Regions from separate parts of the Homo sapiens genome. Here regions 1, 2 and 3 are each linked to region 4. The links are contacts of gene promoters, found by promoter capture Hi-C in human tissues and cell types (Jung and others, 2019). All regions are on one chromosome and are shown on one strand. Each heading gives the region's core, a stretch centred on a gene start or on the middle of the fragment in contact. The rest is flanking DNA. Distances are from core to core; before and after follow the strand shown.

What was found. The method cuts DNA at HindIII sites, captures the fragments that hold promoters and counts their contacts. A contact is called where the count stands out against the background at its distance.
Region 1: a contact is called between a fragment that was not itself captured here and the fragment with the promoter of PKD2 in region 4, in 1 of the 25 tissues and cell types used here (hippocampus).
Region 2: a contact is called between a fragment that was not itself captured here and the fragment with the promoter of PKD2 in region 4, in 2 of the 25 tissues and cell types used here (H1 embryonic stem cells and bladder).
Region 3: a fragment that was not itself captured here is called in contact with the fragment with the promoter of PKD2 in region 4 in 1 of the 25 tissues and cell types used here (liver).

The regions. Positions count from the first base shown.
Region 1 is chr4:87,551,091-87,553,979 of GRCh38, reverse strand. No RefSeq gene overlaps it. Among named protein-coding and RNA genes, the nearest start is that of SPARCL1, 23 kb to the right of the region's middle. The HindIII fragment of the contact is 4,755 bases long and covers 1-2,889 here.
Region 2 is chr4:87,629,487-87,632,422 of GRCh38, reverse strand. All of the region lies in intron 3 of DMP1-AS1 (DMP1 and DSPP antisense RNA 1), which reads left to right. Among named protein-coding and RNA genes, the nearest start is that of DMP1, 19 kb to the left of the region's middle. The HindIII fragment of the contact is 5,656 bases long and covers 1-2,936 here.
Region 3 is chr4:88,273,293-88,276,238 of GRCh38, reverse strand. The region is part of intron 3 of PPM1K (protein phosphatase, Mg2+/Mn2+ dependent 1K); the gene reads left to right. It also overlaps the pseudogene RNU6-112P. Among named protein-coding and RNA genes, the nearest start is that of PPM1K, 9.8 kb to the left of the region's middle. The HindIII fragment of the contact is 6,866 bases long and covers 1-2,946 here.
Region 4 is chr4:88,005,772-88,008,925 of GRCh38, reverse strand. It overlaps PKD2 (polycystin 2, transient receptor potential cation channel), which reads right to left and starts at 1,291. Exons shown (of 15, transcript NM_000297.4): 1 at 598-1,291. The coding sequence starts at 1,192. RefSeq lists silencers at 409-548, 599-1,528. The HindIII fragment of the contact is 15,667 bases long and covers 1-3,154 here.

The DNA.
Region 1 (2,889 bases), core at 249-2,748, 460 kb after region 4:
GCAGAAGCTGAAGCAAAGTGAGGTGAAGTATCTTGCCCTAAATTTCATAACAAGTACAGAATAATACCAGAATTTTAAGATAGGCAGCCTGGCCTGGCATGGTGGCTCGTGCCTGTAATCCCAGCACTTTAGGAGGCTGAGGCAGGTAGATCACTTGAGGTCAGGAGTTTGAGACCAGCCTGGCCAATGTGGTGAAACCCCGTCTCTACTAAAAAATACACAAAGTAGCCTGGCGTGGTGGCACAAATGTAGTCCCAGTTACTCAGGGGGCTGAGGCAGGACAATCGTTTGATCCCAGGAGGCAGAGGTTGCAGTGAGCCAAGTTCATGCCACTGCACTCCAGCCTGAGCAATGGGAGTGAGATTCCACCTCAAAAAAAAAAAAAAAAAGTAGGCAGCCTAACTGCCTATATTATAGAGCAGGCCTAATAGATGCTCTTTATTAAGGCACTGTGCTAGACACTTCACATGTATATCCTCACAATAATCTCACGGTGCTATTTACACATGGTAAAACGGGATTTAAAAGATCAGATAACTTTCCTTAAGTCACACAGCTAGTGAGTAGTGGAAACAAGATTTAAACCCAGACAGTCTGATTCCTATCCCCCAAACAAATACAGAGCTCAGGCTCCGAGCTGCACACATAAAAGATGCTTACTAGCAGCATCTGCTGTTTGTTGGGGAAAGCATAAACTAACATGACTTTTTCATCTTCTAGTAGCTTTTCCATTCTTTCTTCTAATTCAGCAGGAGCACACTGGAATATCGAGTTAAAACAGTTCCACACAGGTGAGCAGGTAGATTGTTTGGTCTGGTAAGCCAGTCATCTTTGTCTTGTGTTTGGTAAAAATGAAGTTGTTTTGTCTCATTATGGCCCTGAGAGGTATTTAAAGTTCTATCCAGAGATATCTTATGTTTGTCATCTTTGTCTGACTATAAAAATAAAACCAATGGTGTGCTGCAGGTACAAGCACAAAAGTTGAGTGCATGAAGGTTGGAAGGATAAAAGATCAAGGGAGTGATGGGATGTTTCTTAGCTATATTCATTGCGATGCCTTCCCTTCTTCCTCTTGTCTCTGTCACATACACACTCCCCTAAAATTCACTAGAAACAGCCGCCCCTGAGCACCTATATCCAGGCATTTCCCTATACCTCAGATATCTGTCAGCAAGGTAAACCCTAGAAAAAATTGTAAGGGCAATATAAATGTTCCTCGATTTATGATGGAGTTACTTCCTGATAAACCCATTGTAGGCTGAAAATATCCTAAATCAAAAATGCATTTAGAAAACTGAACCTACCTTAAACATACACAGAACACTTATGTTAGCCCACAGTTGAGCGAAATCATCTAACACAAAGCTTATTTTGTAATAAAGTGTTGAATTTCTCATGTAATTTATTGAATTCTGTACTGAAAGTCAAAAAAAGAACAGTAAGTGTACTCAAAGCATGGTTTCTGCTGAATGCATATAGCTTTTGCATTATCATAAAGTTGAAAAATTGTGAGTTGAACCATCGTAGTCAAGGATCATCTGTATGTGTTTCCTCCATCTCCATTTTACCTTCCTTCTGTCCTACTTTTGTGGGTGTCTTCAAGCTATTCTTTTTTTTTTTTTTTTTTTTCTGAGACAGAGTCTTGCTCTGTCCCCCAGGCTGGAGTCCAATGGCACAGTCTTGGCTCACTGCAACCTCCACCTCCCAGGTTCATGCAATTCTCCTGCCTCAGCCTCCCAAGTAGCTGGGATTACAGGCGCCCGCCACCACGCCCAGCTAATTTTTTGTATTTTTAGTAGAGATGGAGTTTTGCCATGTTAGCCAGGCTGGTCTCAAACTCCTGACCTCAGGTGATCCACCCGCCTCGGCCTCTCAAAGTGCTGGGATTACAGGCATGAGCCTCCACACCTGGCCTTCAAGCTATTCTTTTGACAGCTACAAATTCCTCATAAAAGCCTCTCTGTCCCTGCTTATGCTTAACCAACCCACTTGCTTATTCAACAATGATGTGTGGCTTCACACAGAGCCAGGCACTGTTTTAGACTCTTGAGACACAATAGTGAATAAAACAGACAAAAATCTCTGCCCCTGAGAAATTTACATTCTAGCAAGGGCAGGTTGGAAATAAACACAATGCATTATAAATGAGTAAATAGTTTGTTAAAAGATCATTATTCTATGTTTTAAAAAAGGAGAAAAAATTTGGGCAGGGAAGAAGGATTAAGACCTAAGGGAATAAGGAAAAAGTATGGTTTTCAGAATTAAATAATGTGGGCGGAGAGGTCTCATTGAGGAGAAACTGGAATAAAGAGGAGGTTGGTGAGAGAGTAAGCCAAGTAGGTAAACTAGGGAAGAGCATTCCAAGCAGGAGGAGCAAACACAAAGGCTCCCCATCAAGAGTGTGTCTGAGGGGTGTGAAGAGCTGCAGGGAGGCCAGCGTTCTGCAGCAGAGTGAGTAAGTGAGTGGGGGGACAATAGCAAGAGATGAGGTCAGCACAGTTACTGCACCGTAGCCTCAAGAACTTGGAGACCAATGTGAGGACTTGGGGTGTTACTCTGAGTGAAACTGGGTGTAAATAGAAAGTAAATTTCATTTTCTCCCAATTTAATTAATATAGACAGAATATTTCTCCTCTTTTAAGAAAACATATAAAAATCTAAGAAATAACACAATGGGAAGGACCATGACCTAACCAAGTTAATCTCCTGCATCTAAAGTGTTTCCAGCTTGCTAAGGGGAACAAATTCTTCTCTAAGATCTCCTTTAAACCCAGTGCTGTGGCCGGGTGCAGTGGCTCCCGTCTGTAATCCCAGCACTTTGGGATGCCAATGTGGGCAAATCACCTGAGGTCAGGAGTTCAAGACCAGCCTGGCCAACATGCCAAAACC
Region 2 (2,936 bases), core at 155-2,654, 380 kb after region 4:
GAGGCAGCAGTATTATTTTTCATAATGTCCATGGTGGTTACACAAGCATTTGTTTTAAATGTTTGTTAAGGTTGGATTATATTTAATAGTGAAAAGTCTTTAAGACAAATATTGTTTTCAAAAAATTAATACTGAATATGATAGTTAAGATCAGCTCTTCCATAGGCTCATAATGTAATTTCACCATTTTTATGGGCATCACTTTGGTTGGTTTTTCTAATCTTAAGTAAGCAAGTGTTTGTAATGTTTTTATGTCAGAATGCATTTGATTTTTAAAAATGTTTGTCTCTTTTCCATGAAGGTAGTTTAATTAATTCTTTGTCTTAGGATTTGGAAGTGGATAAAACTGGTTTTTTAAAAATGTTTTTATTTGTAAGAACAGTTGAAAGTTGCAGCTATTTGGAGACTATTTTTGAATTTACAACACCACAGCTTGGTTATTTGAAAAAGGTTGATTTCACTCTGCCACAAAAATTGATTCTTTTCCAATCTGGAGACCTCAAGATGTTCTGATTTTGGAGAAAATTGCTAGTAGAATAAAAATGGCTAACACTGAGAACACTATGTCCCACATTTTTCTTTGCCAACTTTAAATAATGCTTAGAATAGATTACACATCAGTTCTCCAACATTTTCTCCTTGAGACTTCCTTCCTACCACCCTTCATGGTCAATAAAAGGATTCCAGAGGAGTCAATTCTTAATTAGCAAAAGGAAAAAGATTGGTCTAGAAAAGAGTAGCTTACTCTGAAGATAAGTCATCTGTCGGTGGCAAACCAGTCCAACCTCGACAAAGATGTGTGAAAACCTTCCATTGACATAATTTAATAAGACAGTAAAGCAATGCCATCAAAGCATCTCAACATGAAATATCAGCCAAATAGTTGTTGGTTCTGGATACAGACAAACTTGGTAGGGCATATTTTCTTCCAAATGCTTCCTTACTTTTACTCATGGCATTTTTTTTTAAGAGACAGCCTCACTCTGTTACCCAGGCTGGAATGCCGTGGCATGATTATAGCTCACTGCAGCCTCCAACTCCTGGGCTCAAGCAACCCTCCAAGCTCAGCCTTTTGAGTAGCTGGGGACTCAACATGTTGCCCAGGCTGGTCTCGAACTCCTGCCCTCAAGCACTCCTCCCCGTTTGGCCTCCCAAAGTGCTGAAATTACAGGCATGAGTCACTGCACCTAGCCCTTATTCATGGCCTTTTTTTTTTTTTTAACCAATTAGGATTTTTCACTTTGCTGTTAAAGTATGTAATTTTGGCAAACCAGATTATACATACATTTCTATAAATTTATATATGTATAAAAATATTCATCTAATGCACCATCATGTCAAAAGATAATAAGAAAGGTGAAGCTGAAATAGATTTGTGACTTCTCCAGTAGTCAATTACATCAATGGTGTTTTGCCACTCTAGGTTAACCAAATTTGATGAGCAGAAGCATAATAATCACTGATACCTTTGACAATGGTAATTATTACTATTATTATTATTATTGCATTTTTAGTAGAGAGGGGGTTTCATCACAGTGGTCAGGCTGGTCTTGAACTCCTGACCTCAGGTGATCCACTTGCCTCGGCCTCCCAAAGTCCTGGAATTGCAGGCGTGAGCCACCATGCCCAGCCCAACGACAGTAATTATTATGAAGACAGGTAAACATTTCACTTAGATATGCATTAAGCTTCATATTGTATTATCACGTTTGCAGTCCTTGGTTTGATTGGTATGTTTAAGAATCCACATGAACCAAGTTAGAGTTGTCCTCTTTAAACACAGGCATGAAAACTGGTAACCTTCTCAAAGCATTCTTACATTCCCATTAATTGTAAGACCAAAAAAAGTTTCTCCTTTCTTAGTAATAGAATATCTACATATCTACTAGGTTACTTTTCTGAGTACATAAAATTACATACATAAATATCAACTGAAATCTATGTGCTCATTTTAGTATATTTTCTAATCTTATTTTCAACAGTCTAATATATTGCTATTTCTTCACTAATGCTTTTTTTGTTTGTTTGTTTGAGACAGGGTCTCACTCTGTCACCCAGGCTGGAGTGCAGTGCCGCAATCTCAGCTCACTGCAACTTCACCTCCTGGGTTCAAGCAATCTTCCCACCTCAGCCTCCTGAGTAGCTGGGACTACAGGTACATGCCACCACGCCTGGCTAATTTTTGTATTTTTTTGTAGAGGGGAGGTTTCACCATGTTGACCAGGCTGGTCTGGAACTCCTGGACTAAGTGATCTGCCTGCCTCGGCCTCCCAAACTGCTGGGATTACAGGCATGAACCACTGCACCTGGCCTGCTAATGCTTTTAACTTTTTTGTTGTTTGTTTGTTTGTTTGTTTGTTTGTTTTTTGAGATGGAGTCTCGCTCTGTCGCCAGGCTGGAGTGCAGTGGCGCAATCTTGGCTCACTGCAACCTCCGCCTCCCAGATTCAAGTGATTCTCCTGCCTAAGCCTCCCAGGTAGCTGGGACTACAGGCACATGCCACCACAACTGGCTAATTTTTGTATTTTTAGTAGAAACAGGGTTTCACCATGATGGCCAGGATGGTCTCGATCTGTTTTAACTTTTTAAAATTTTGCAATTTCTTCTTCCACTCCTTAACCTCTTTGTCTCTTCTTTCTCTAGGTACTTGTTAATTATCATCAGGGTCAGACAGAATCCTTGTAGGCATTTTGAAAAAAGATAACATTTCCTTCCTTGAATAATTTAAAGGAATGAATAGGTTTGTCCAAGACCATGTTTATTATTACTTTAGGTCAAACTATTTGAAATTGCTGGGTTTTTTTAATTAAATTTTTAAAAAACCAAAACCCATTGAAATGTAGCAACGAGCATTGCCCTACATTATTTTTTTCTTAGCTCCGTATCTCATCTTCTTTTTCATAATATCTCTATGAATCTTATGAAACTTATGCTCC
Region 3 (2,946 bases), core at 50-2,549, 270 kb before region 4:
GTCTTCAGTTGGAATACATAAGGATAGAGATTGTTTGCATTTCACAGCGAAGGAACTGAAGATTAGAGTGGTAAAGGTCAGTTCAGAGTTAGGGCTGGGATTTTCCTGACCACCAGCATTATCTCTCTTCTCTCATGAGGAGAGGAGAAGGTAACTCTGCGATGGCTCTATTTACCATCTTGAGATTTTTTCCTGAGCTTTTTTTGAGAACCTTACTATCACACTCCTCAGGAAAGCATTACAGTCCACTCTCTTCAGGGATATGTTTTCCAGTTTGTAGATCATTTAGGCCCATTTTCTTTTCTTTCATTCCTTTGGAATTTTTCTTTTTCCTTTCAACTGGACCCTTACCTTTAAGAAGACAGAAGCTGAAAGAGGTAAACTTTATGCATAAGACTTAGCTCTTGTTCCAAATAGTTAAAACACATGAAGGAAAAGAGGAAATGAAATATTTTCTTATGGTTTTATTTTTATTACTTCCTGAATTTTGGTATGCTCTTATTTCATAGTAACTGAGTTGGCTGTGCATCTGGCTATGTCTCACACCACAATGTTTGTTGACTGTAGTGTCGGTGGTGTGCCCCAGCTGTTCTGTAAATAGCTGCAGCTTACTGGGCAAGGTTTTTGGATGAGAATGTCCAAATTTATCCCAGGCATGTGACCACCAACCAAAAACATTGGCCTTCTCAATGCCATCAGCCTCTTTTAAAAGTATCTAGTCAATGTAGATGCTTAAACCAATCGGTGATTGACTTGATGTAAAATATGACAGGACTCCTTTTATTATTGAATGAAGTATAACTCAACAGAATTTTGAACTTAAAGAATTTAATTAACTTGCCTATCTTAAAAGAAACTTTCTAAAGATACCTTTGTCACAAAAACATTAAACAGTTGTATAAAGAAATTAATCACAAAAATGTAATTCATATGCTAACTTCAGCAGCACATACACTAAAATTGGAATGATACAGAGATCAGCATGGTCCTTGTGCAAGGATGGCACACAAATGCATGAAGAGTTCCATATTTTTTATTCTTACTAAAATCAATTCATTTGTAATAAAGAAATTAAAATGCATTATTTAATTTAATTCCTCTATCATATGCTTTGAAGTAATGATCCCAGAACATTCTTAAGATATTTTAAAATGTATTTTTCATATAATGGTAATTTGTTTGAAAGTATAATGGAGCAAGACAAGATGATGCTCTTAGTGTGTACTAAAAGAAAAGGTCTATTATAATATTGTTATTAAATCTTATTTTGTTATTAAATTTGTTATTTGTTATTAAAATCTTATTTTGTATATATTCTTATCGGTCTGTGTTTTTTAAAAATTAGTGTTTTGAGAACATTTAAAAATTTTATTCTTGATAAGTTGCCAGAGCCTTCAAAGATGGCAAAAATTGTCTTGATATTTAGGGCCTATTTTATCAAATACATTAAAGCCACTAAAGATAGAATGCCATATGTTGTGTAACTGTTCAGTTTATGGATTTTTTAAAATGTCATTTTAAATTTCAAAGTTATTATTTAAGTTTAAAACTTTAGTTTTTAGCAAGAACTGAAGCAGTATCAGTATTATAAGAGTGGATAATATTCTTTTCGGCCTATGTATATAGATAGGACCAGTGCCAGTGAAACAAAATTTTGTAGTAAGTGCAGTTTACCCTCTCCAGTTTCTTTCATCTTTTCTCTTTTAGTATTAACCCCTTTCCCCTCTTCTTGAACCCTTCCTGTGAGGTGAAGGACTGTGGCTTATTCATTTTTGAATCTCCAGTGTGCAGCACCCTGCATAGAACCTGGCAGGTACTCAATAATTATTTGGATTGAACTGAGATCTCCACGCTGACTCTTTCTCACTGAAGTTACTGTAATTTTTTCTTTGATTATCATATAGCTGATTTAATCAAATTATTATAAAATGTTTGCATTTTAATGAGCTGTCACTCCTGGGTGGATTTGAATTTTAGTTAGCAGACACCTGAAAAAGGCTTAAACCATAGAAGTGAATTACTAATGGTGAGATTTTAGGTATAAAAGAGAGGCGTGCCGCTCAGTCCTACTGAAGCAGCATTGCTCGTCTGGCGTAATACTTGAGTTTCATTGTCTCATACCAAGGAAATCAAGGACGAGGACACACAAGGAGTGAGGTTAGGAGTGGAGACTTAATAGGTGAAAGAAAGAGAAAAGCTCTCTCCTGCAAAAAGAGGGGTCCCAAACAGCTTTCTAGTCCATGGTGAAGTGCAGGAGGCTTTATGGATGAACTTGAGGAGGCAGTGTCTGATTTACATAGGGCATGAAAGATTGGTTGGACCAGATGTGCCATTTGCATAGCACACGAAAAACTGATTAGGCCTAGGTGTGCAATTTGCAGAGCATTCAAGAATCTGGCCACCCCCACCCTAATCTTTTATTATGCAGATGGGTTCTCTACCTGGCCAGCGCCATGTTGCCCATTTCTTTACACATGGTGACAAAGAAAAGGGAAGATGGAACATATTGAACATGCTTGGCCCCAGGTAGCCCTTTTCTTTTTCTTTTTTTTTTTTTTTGAGACAGTTTTGCTCTAGTCTCCCAGGCTAGAGTGCAATGGTGCAATTTCAGCTCACTGCAACCTCCACCTCCCAGGTTCAAGTGATTCCCCTGCCTCAGCCTCCCAAGTACCTGGGATTATAGGCGCCTGCCACCATGCCTACCTAATTTTTGTATTTTTAGTAGAGGCGGGGTTTTGCCATGTTGGTCAGGCTGGTCTCTAACTCCCGACCTTGGGTGATCTGTCCGCCTTGGCCTCCCAAAGTGCTGGGATTACAGGCGTGAGCCATTGTGCCCAGCCCAGGTAGTACTTTTCTATTGGCACAGCTGCTGGCATTCACCTGTGCAAGCTTCCAGCTTGCTTATTTATGTTTGCAGCTCAATTTTTCAGGTTGCTCTTTGTTAGA
Region 4 (3,154 bases), core at 42-2,541:
TTTATTCTATTTGTGGTGTTCTTAACAGCTCCCACTCCTCAAAACAACCACACACATCACCAAAAAAATGCACCAATGACAATCTGCCACACTCCTCCCACAACTTGACATTATATGCACTGTACTGCTACCCTTTTCAGCCCGGGACAATGGAGTGTCCAGGCAAGAAGGAAACCACGGGTGACTATAACATTTTCCTTTAGATTTTGTGACATTGGCAAATATGCAGTTGCAACTACCATCAGTTACACAAGTAATGTTCATTTTTTCCTCTACAAGAAAAAAAAAAACAAAACCCAGATGTACTCTTTCACTCTAATTAGGCTTTCACTAATTTTCAGTAAAAAAGACTATGGTGACATATCCTGAAGAAGGAGGTATCCAATAAATATGCACCAACAAAAGAGCAGTGGAATTCCGCGCTGGGTACCGGAAATAGGGCAGCACTAGCGGAGGTGGGGAATGCGCTTCCAAGGGAGGCGGAACGCAGAGGGGATGCGAGATGGAGCCCGGGGAGCTGCCGCAGCGGGCGATGGCCCCGGCCGGCGCCGGCCGTTCTGGTTCGTGCATCTGCCGCTGCGGGTCGCGCGCTCTTACCTCGCAGCCCGCGAACCAGCCTCTCCGCCCAGGCCACTCGGGGCGGCTGCCCTTCCAGGGGGAGGTGGCGATGCAGCGGGTCCCCGCCGCCGACTGGGCTGGGGCACGGCGGGCCCTGGTCCTCTCGCCGGCGCCGCCTCCCGCTCGGGTGGCCCGCGCCGTGGTAGCCCCCAAGCCCCCGGCTCCGCGCGCCCACGGAGCTCACGGCCGAGGAGGCGGCCGACCTCCGGCTGCCCGGGCGCCACTCTACGTCCATCTCCACCACCATTCCGCCTTCTTCCCCTTCCACCTCCTCCTCCTCCTCCTCGGCCTCGAAGCCGGGGTTATCGCGGCTCCACGCCTGCCGGGAGCACGACGAGAGCGGAGGAGAAGGGGAGGCCGCGGCTCCGGCCGGGGGGTCCCGCGCGGCCGCCTGCCGGATGCGCTGCATCTCGATCTCCAGGCCCCGCTGCTCGCAGAGGCCGCCCGGGGCGGCGAGGCTGGCGCCCACGGCCGCGCAGCCAGCCATCAGCCGGCCCGGGTCCGGCGCGCGGGGCGCGGGCGGCCGCTTGGCGTCCCCGGGCTGCTGAGGCTGCACGCGACTGGAGTTCACCATCGCGGTCACTGGCGTCCGGCGCGCGGGTGCGCGGCGCCGCGCTCGGCGCTGTGCGCCTCAGGAGCCATGTTCCTTTCTTCCCGGCGCCCGCCGCCGCCTGCTCCCCGCCCCCGACCTCCCCGCGGTCCCGCGTCCTCTCGCCCGCCCCTTTGGCCCGCCTCCCTCTGGCCTCGCCCCGCCTCGCCCATCCGCCGCGGCGCGCTGAGCGGGGAGGTGCGAGGGAGCCGCCCCCGCGGTCTGCGCGCTCGCCCGGCGGCTCCCGAGTCCGCGTTCCAAGTGGAACCGGAGCCCGGGCGCGGGCGCCCACGTTCCATTCCCGGGAAGGCCTGGGAAGGGAGGGAATCGCTCACCCGCCAGCCCGCCTGCAGGGAAAGGGCTCCTGGAGCTGTCGATGCCTGCCCGACGCTGAGATAACTCTTGGGTCCCAGTTATCCACCAGCCACTTCTGCCTCGATTCACCAAAGGGCAGGGAAAGAACCTTTTGGTGAGATGGTGTGAATTAGCGACATCCAGCCTGAGCTGAAGTCTCCAGCGGGTCAAAGAAATCTTTCCATTTGCAAACTACCAAGGCTGACTTGCTGTGCATTTGGCGGGCCTCCTGCCCCTGATTCTGCTGGTTTGGAGATGCTTTCTCGCTCTTTGGTTGGCTTCTGTCTCCACACATTGTGGGGATCCCAGGGATTCGTCATAGGACTCTCGGATCGCTGGTGCCTCCACTGTGATCTCCGGTCTCCCTGCGGCCAGCACTGACTTCTAGCAACAGAATCCTGCATGAGGGCCTAGGCACAGAACTTTATTTCCACTCTTCTGAACACATCTAATGTGATGCTCTGCAATTGTCTGAAATTTATCCTACCCTAAGTCATTATCTTGTCCCCTTCTCTGGAACCTGCTTCACTTCCCGTATCCCAAGGTGAGGTTTGGGGCTTCGCTGTCCTCCTCACTTCCCAGGCCACTCTTCTTCATGGAAGCCTCGCGGTTTACCCTCCACCGCCTACACCTTATCTTCTTGTTACTTTTGCCCCACAGATATCACCCTGATATGATCTCTGTTTCTCACTCCTGCTGGCTTGATCTTATGTCTTGCATTATTCCGCATTAGAACAATTGATCCCTGTCAACTCCCATCTCTATTCTCCACGTCGGTGTCCTCACTATTTCCAGGTTATATTGCAGAACCAAAGCTGCTTATTTGTCACGTTGATGCTTAGACACCTCTGTGGGCTTCTGGCAGCTGAAAGGATAAAATTTAATTTCTGTGGTTTGGTTTAGTAAATTCTCATAATCTGCTCCTGTATTTGTTTGTTAGGGCTGCCATAACAAAGTACCAGAGACTGGGTGGCTTAACAGAAATTTATTTGCTCACCTTGTCTCTACAAAAAATACAAAAATTAGCCAGGCTTTGCGGTGTGTGCCTTTGGTCCCAGCTATTAGGGACGCTGAGGTGGGAGGATCGCTTGAGCCCGGGAGGCAGAGGATGTAGTGAGCCAAGATCGGGCCACTGCACTCCAAGTGACAGAGTGAGACTCTGTCTCATAAAGAAAGAAAGAGAGAGAGAGAAGAAAGAAAAAAAGAAGGAAGGAAGGAAAAAGAAAAGAAAAATTGTATTTTCTCACGAGGTGTTGGCAGAGTTGGTTTCTTCTGAGGCCTCTCTCCTTGGCTTGCAGATGGCCCCGCTTTTGTGTCCTCACGCCGTCTTCCCTCTTCCCTCTGTATGCGTCTGTGTCCTAATTGTCTATTCTTATACATCATATTGGATTAGGGCCTACCCTCATGACCTTGTTTTCACTTCATTACTTCTGTAAAGACCCTGTCTCCAAGTATGGTCATGTTCTGAGGTAATGGGGGTTAGGACTTCAACACAGAAATTTTTGGGGGGACACAATTTAGCTTTAACAGCTCTTAATGTACTCCTCTAGCATGGCATCCCATGCCATCCATCCACCTTAATGAATTATTCAT